Linked DNA regions of Homo sapiens: region 2 is linked to region 1. Evidence: promoter capture Hi-C in 16 types of primary human blood cells and fetal thymus (Javierre and others, 2016). All regions are on one chromosome and are shown on one strand. Each heading gives the region's core, a stretch centred on a gene start or on the middle of the fragment in contact. The rest is flanking DNA. Distances are from core to core; before and after follow the strand shown.

Region 1 (3,488 bases), core at 1-2,500:
TGTTCCCCGCGTAGGCACACACCAGCCTGGCCTGTCTCTGGTGACCCCCTGAGTGGCCTCCACGTAGGTAACAGAGGTCACCTGCTGTTCCAATCCAGGGGGTGCAGGGGCCAGGCTTTGCGTCCTCAGGGCCCCCGCAGCTTAGAGCTCAGACCTGGCTACTGAGGAAAAATTCTGAAAATGCTTCCCAAGCGACGAGGCTAGATGCTGGTGAGGCCGTGCTCCAAGCCCCAACCTTGCCAGTCACTCTCTGTGACCCTGAGTAAGTCTCTTATCCTCCCTGGGCCTCAGATTTCCAATCTGTACAATGGCAAGGTTGGACTAGAAGAATCTAAGACCTTTTCCGTCTCAAAGATCCACCCATTCATTCATTCATTTATTCATTCATTCAGCAACATTTATTGAGCCCTTGGTCCTGGTGCTCAATAGGGATGAGCTACCTCCTAGTGATACAGCAGCGATCAAAACGGACACAGCCTCGTGGAGCTTGCTTCTCATGGGGGAGCCAACGTTCAAGAAAAAATAATAAATGAGCATATAATATTATTCCTGTAATATAAGAACCAGGCAGAAAAGGGAAATAGGGCAAAGGGTCAGACAGCAATGAGGTAGGGGCTGTCAGGAAGGCTTCTTGGAGGAGGTGACATTTGAGGCAAGCCCTGATTAGCGGAAGAACAAGCCAGATTCTGTGAATTCTGTTTGCGCAGAAGATGGAAAGTCATTGCTGATCACCATGTGAAGCAAAGGGCCCCAGCCTGGGACCCAGGACACCTGCATTCCTCTCCAGACACTGCCGGTCACTCGTTGTGTGACCGTGGGCAAGTCACTCCCACTCTTGGAGCCTCAGTGTTCTCATTTGTGTCTGAGGGTGGTGAGCCACAGCTCAAAGTTTCGTTAAAGCAGTTCTGAGAGGTTGCATTTCTGAGTATTTGGGTTCTGACTCAACCCCAGCCTCTCATGTTGATCAGGGACTGCAGAAGGACTGGCCTTTGTCCCTAAGGCCTATGAGGAGCAGTGAGAAGGCCCGGGGGCGGCCACACCCCGGCACTCACCTCTCGGCCCGCAGCTGCTGGGCCACAGCCATGGTGGGCGATGGTCCCAGGGAGCAGGTGGAGAGTCTCGCCCAGCCAGTCCCAGGCTGAGTTCACCTCTCACTTCCTCCAGCCACCCTGCGTCTCGTCTCAGCCTGTGGTCCTGGGAGTCCCCAGGAGCTGCCTTTGGGGAGGCTCAGGCCTGCTTCTCTCCAGTCTGGCAGAGGCTCCTCCTCCAGGCTCTCTGGGCCTAGCCTGTGGCCCACACTTCCTCTTACCTCACCTCCCAGCTGCACAGAAATTGAGGAAGTGGACCCTCGGGTGCCAGGTTTGCAGGAATCCACTTCCTTGATGTCAGTCCTTGGCGCCAAGCCTCAGTTGGGTATCAGAAGCCTTGCTCCATCAGAGATGGGGTCCCAGCCATCAGGGTGTCTTGTGACCTTGAGGAGTCACTTATCCTCTGGCCCATCAAGCCCCACCTTTATTCTCTTACTGCCAAGCCTTTGCCCAAACTCTTCCCCAGGCCTAGAATGCTGGCCTCCATTTTCCTGTGATCTCTTAGGCCCAGAGTAAATGCCACCTCCTCCAGGAAGCCCTCCTGGTTCCTCTGGCCTCTGTCTTCCTAGAGTGTGAAGTTTGGTTTGCGCGCCCTGGCACTCTGGGATATCCTTTCCTCATCCTTAGATCTCCATGCCCAGCCAATCCTCTTTCACAGGGCTGCCAATCAGAGTGAGTTTCACCCTCCCTGCTTAAACTCTCCTGCCCCATCACCCTGTGCTCAGGATAAAGTCCAGAGTCCTTGCCCTGCCTGCCTCCAATGCCCCTGAGGCCCTGCAGCCTTCCCCAGCCTCTGCTCCTGAGCTCCCTTTTTCTCACTGGCCTCCTTTCCGTTTCTAGAATGTTCTAAGACGTCCGCCCCAAGGCCTATGCTCATGGTGTTCCCTCTGCTGGAAAAAGCTCTTCACTGCCTCCTTTGCATCTCAGCTTAGAAGCTACATCTTTAGCGAGGCCTTCCCTGACCACACACCCTAAATTAAGGCCCTCCCTACTACATTCTCTCACAGGTCCCTGCACGTCTACTGCAGAGCACTCATAACTATTGTCATCTCACATTTGTTTGTTTATCTGTATGTTTAATGACTGCCTCCTTGGCTAGCAGCGTGCCTGGCACATTGCAAGTGCTCAACCAATATTCAGTGAATGAATGAAACGCTGCCAGTCAGTGACTGCAGCTCCTAACAGGTATGGGTATTTGATTCTGAAGGGACTTCTCTGAGAAGAGGTCCACAGGAGTCATTGGCACAGCCACACCCAGTAACTCCCTGCCAGCTACACACGCTCACACACTCGTATTCATACATGCAGAGCAGAAAGTTGTTTTAAACTACTTTAAACATACAAGTCCCAGCTAAAAAAAACAAGAAAGCATAATTTTTAGGTAGGATCAAAGAGAGGGGTCAGGAATCTATACCAGGGGGAGAGGAACGTGGCCAACAGCCCATGGGAAAACCAAGATTGGATATGCATTGTTGGGCTGAGATTTTAATGCCAAATCTGGGACTAGGTACAGGCCACAGGTCCTGCTGTTAGCAGAAAGTCAAATCTGAGTTCTCAGTGTAAAGTGGGTGTCAGAACTGATTATGGGAACAGAGTTTCTCAGCCATCAGCCTAGAGTCACGGCAGGAGCTGAGGTCCTCTCACAGTCCATGGGTGGAACAAGGGACGTGTGTACCAGATCAGCCTCAAGCCTGCCCTCTGCACTGGTGTAAGGCCCCGATATAAGCTACCCACGTGGTGCAGAAATCCTAAGCTGAGGCATTATATAAAAACAGCTTGGAGTCAGTGACTCTGCAGGGCCTACTCTGTCAACTCACAGACCAAAACTACAAATCGTGAGCTGTGAAAGACAGCTCAGAGCCTCCACATCATGAAGAATTCACACCCAAAGAACTAGAAATAATACAAACAATAAGTCTGATGAGTTGCTGGTGTCTCGGGGCTCCCAGGCTAGAGGATGAAATGAAACACAGAGCAGGGTTATTAGTGCAGGTGTCTGTAAGTACCAACAGGTGCAAGCACACAGCCATAACTGAGGGAAGAGGAGGACATTGGCCTACAGTTGGTCAGGAAGGACAGGAAGTGGCAAAACAATTTTAGCAAGCAAGCATGATACAGAATTTGTAGGTGATTGTGTAAACTGTGTGTGTAGTATATGCCTATAGTTGGAAACACATATTTGTGTATAAACACATACAGCTCGCATAGGCAAGTGTAAGTGCATTTGTGTTGTGTCTATAAAAGACCATATAATGTGTATAGTGGTGGCATTGTGGCTGTGAGAGAATGTGTTTAGATGTTTAGGTTGCAGTCGGTGACAAATGAGTATAAACACAAGTACATTTATAATAGGTGAACTCAGGCAAGATAACATGTCCTTTTTGAACCTTTCTTCTTCAC
Region 2 (3,451 bases), core at 424-2,923, 300 kb after region 1:
ACACACACACACCACTCGCATGCATGGGAAGGGCACCCGTCTAGAATCCAGGACTGGATTCCGGAATTCCTTGCTGCATGGCCTCTCTGGGCCTTAATTTTCCCCCCATGTAAGCATGTGGATTGACCCAGAGAAGCACTAAAGGCCCATTCTTGCTCTATGTATCTGTGACTTAAGATCTGCCACCTGCCCCGAGGATATGCCAGGGATGACCAGGACAGCTGCCACCAAGCCCCCAGGCTCATCATCAGTCAGCCTCTCAGACACACACACACACACACACCATATACCTCCTCACTGTGCTCCCCGAACACCTGCCCCCACATCCAATGTCAAAGCAAAAATACACACATGTGAGCAAACATAAAGCTGTTCAGGCAAAGAGGGGAAAGACGCAGGGGTCCCCAAAGCCCTTCTTCACTTTGTGTCCCCTTGCTGCGATCATGGAGAGTTAAAGAGGCTTCCTTGGGAGAAGAGCTCTGCCACCAGGGCTTCCCCAGTGTCTTTGGGGGTCTGTGAAAAAGAGGATCCTCTGAGGTTTACTGGGAGGGCTCAAGGCTGAGGGAATGGAGAGGAAAATTTTAGCAGTTCCATCCCAGTGTAAGGACCAACCCCAAAAGTTAAACTTGCACCACAGACTAAAGGTCAAGGGCATCCTGTGTTTCTCCCCTTTCTTCCCCAGAGTGACAAGGGCCAGTTCAGACTGACAGAAATCCAACAGCTTTCCTGAGCTGGAAATTTCAGAACAGTCTGCAAGTTACTCCCAGGTGACTGAAGGTCAAGGTGAGGCCCCCCTGCCTCTGCCTGCGAGTCTCCCCCGGTTTGCATTTTTCTTGACACCGGCATTTCCTGAGGTTGAGCTCTCTGGGGAGTTCTAGAGAATGGCTAGTAAGGCTTTTTGAGCTTGCACATCTCACCTGCCTTTCCTGTCTTTTGCCTGGGAAAGGAAAGTTATTTTCCCAGGTCAGCAAGGGGCAGAACATCGGCCAGCCCAGCCCAGAAGTACAGGGGGAGGTCATGGGCCCTGGGGCAGAACAATGGGAGACAATTCAAGGTGTGGTAACAACAACCAAGTTGCCCTCAGTCTGGGCAGAAACTGAACTCTACCCCTCTCCCACCCCAATCTTGCCCGCCATCCCACCAGATTCCAGACCTAAAGGGATCAAGGATGAGAGCGAAGGGAGAAGGGAGGGTCCCCAAGAAAACCGCACCCAAGCGAGCACTGTCTGAAGAGAAAAACTAGCTCCAGTTCTCCGAATTCTGGCAGAGCGTCTGGGAAGGCGATCAGTGCTTCTTTCCATGGCGCAAGGCCTGGGTTCTGGGTGTGCTTGAAGAAAGCCACTGGGGTGTGGGGTGACATCGCCATGGCTGAGAAGGGGCTAGGGGGTCCGGAGGGAAGGAGCCAGGACCGGAACTGCAAGGGCGTTGCTGCCCAGGGGTGTGGATGATTGCTCATGTCCAGCTCAGACCAGTTCAAGAAACTAACCTCCATTTATTTTCTTGGTGAGTCCTTTTTTTTTTTTTCAGACTGTTAACAGAAAAAAAATTTTAAAAAGCAGAAAACTGAAAAAAAAAATCCTGGTACATGAAATAAAGATTTTTTTTTTTTATAGCTTGGTCCTCACTTCAGTGAATTTCTTTAATTCCTTTCCCAACTCCTGGCATCCTATTTAAAACAATCCTAAAGCTACAGATTATTGGGGATGAGAGGTTTAGATGCTGTACAGTAGGGTGTCCCCCCACTCTCTAGATCATGAGTTCCCTATTAAATATCCTTTAGGGATACTTGCACGCCTCCAGTGACAGCGGGCTCACCCCCTCCAAAGATAGCACCAGCCAGTGCTAAGCAGCACTCTTTGGCAAAAGTCTTCTCTGCACACTGAATTTTAATCCACCTCTTCCTTCACACTCCAACAACACTGAATAAATCCCTTCCCTTTTCAGCATGACAGCCCCTCAGATATTTGAAGACAGAGAGCATGACGTCCTTGAGTTTTATCTTTTAGAATAAAGCAGCCCCACTCAACATCCCAGTTACACTCCAGGGTTTCCATTTTCCCCCGTGAAATTGTGCAGTTTGGAATGGACATGACCCTACCAGTTTACTCAGGGGGCTCCCTGCAGAGGGGTGCTTCTCAGGAAGAGGAGAGCCATGGAGTGGCAGAAGAATGGGGAGGGTCCCTGGGACTCTCTTAACTTGAAGAGATGAGAAAGACAAGATGGAATGCTAACAGGAGGATTTGACCTTTGACATCAGAGAAAGGCCCCATTGGAAGGATGACCTGTCATGCCCCAAAACAGCTGTCTAAGATAACAGTGCTATCTAAGATGTGTTGGGGAAGCATACTCACTGTACAGCTCTCCTGGGGCTCCAGAGAAAGGAGATGGCAAGCAGATGACACCTACACACCGCACAGACCTAAGAGAAGGTAAGCCCTGTATGACGTGGCCCGGAAAAGTCTACTCTAGAAGGGTCCAATGTTCAAAACTCCCTGTTCAACTCAGCCTCAGTCTGCTGGGGCCACACCACCAAGCCCCCACCAATCTCAATTATCTCTCTCTCCAGGCTCACCCCTAACACTTGTGGGGTCCAGGGCAAGAGTAGAAAGGGAGGCTCACTCTCCATAACTTAAGTCTGAAGATTTAACAGCTGCACATCGAACTAACGACCTTAAAAAATGGTCTATCAGCCAGGCGAGGTGGCTCACCCCTGTAATCCCAGCACTTTGGGAGGCCGAGGAAGGTGGATCATGAGGTCAGGAGTTCAAGACCGGCCTGGCCGAGATGATGAAATCCCGTCTCTACTAAAAACACAAAAATTAGCCGAGCGTGGTGGTGGGCGCCTGCAATCCCAGCTACTCGGTAGACTGAGGCAGAGAATTGCTTGAACCCGGGAGGCAGAGGTTACAGTGAGCCGAGATCGCGCCACTGCACTCCAGCCTGGGTGACAGAGCGAGACTCTATCTCAAAAAAAATTAAAATAAAATATAAAATAAAATTTAAAAATATGGTCTATCCTCTGTCCTGGCAAATATGTCCTTGTGACAAACTAAAATGTTAGGTTTGAATTTAGAATTCTCAACCTCCTCTGCATTCTGCTCCTCAAAGTAGCAGCATGGGGCAAGCCCACCCTGGAACCCAAGACCACAGCTCCCTGCCCATGACCCACCCCTCCTCCTTTCCCACTTCCAGCTCCACTCAGCACGTTCAGGGCATCTCCCACAAAGTGGGCACACATCCCAGCCTGCACACCCAGCTTTCCCAAAACCACTGCTTAAGGCAGGAGGACATGGGTCCTCAGGAGGACAGATGGCAGCCAGCCCTGGAAGCCAGCACGGCAGGACTCTTGGAGCAGAAATTCTACAGCAGCAGGCATCAGACGAGTGTCTAGCAAAGGGTAGGGCTTGGGGTGAGCACATCGCCTTGGCCTGTGAATTCCTCACCATGTGGG

The links. Contacts are between HindIII fragments. The CHiCAGO score rates a contact against its expected background, and 5 or more counts as called.
Region 2: a contact is called between a fragment that was not itself captured here and the fragment with the promoter of NCF4 in region 1, in 1 of 17 cell types (endothelial precursors). The highest score is 7.8, in endothelial precursors.

The regions. Positions count from the first base shown.
Region 1 is chr22:36,858,768-36,862,255 of GRCh38, reverse strand. It overlaps NCF4 (neutrophil cytosolic factor 4), which reads right to left and starts at 1,250. Exons shown (of 10, transcript NM_000631.5): 1 at 1,053-1,250. The coding sequence starts at 1,084. The region is part of intron 1 of NCF4-AS1 (NCF4 antisense RNA 1); the gene reads left to right. The HindIII fragment of the contact is 9,996 bases long and covers 1-3,488 here.
Region 2 is chr22:36,559,030-36,562,480 of GRCh38, reverse strand. It overlaps CACNG2 (calcium voltage-gated channel auxiliary subunit gamma 2), which reads left to right. Exons shown (of 4, transcript NM_006078.5): 4 at 1-1,624. Among named protein-coding and RNA genes, the nearest start is that of EIF3D, 32 kb to the right of the region's middle. The HindIII fragment of the contact is 8,480 bases long and covers 1-3,451 here.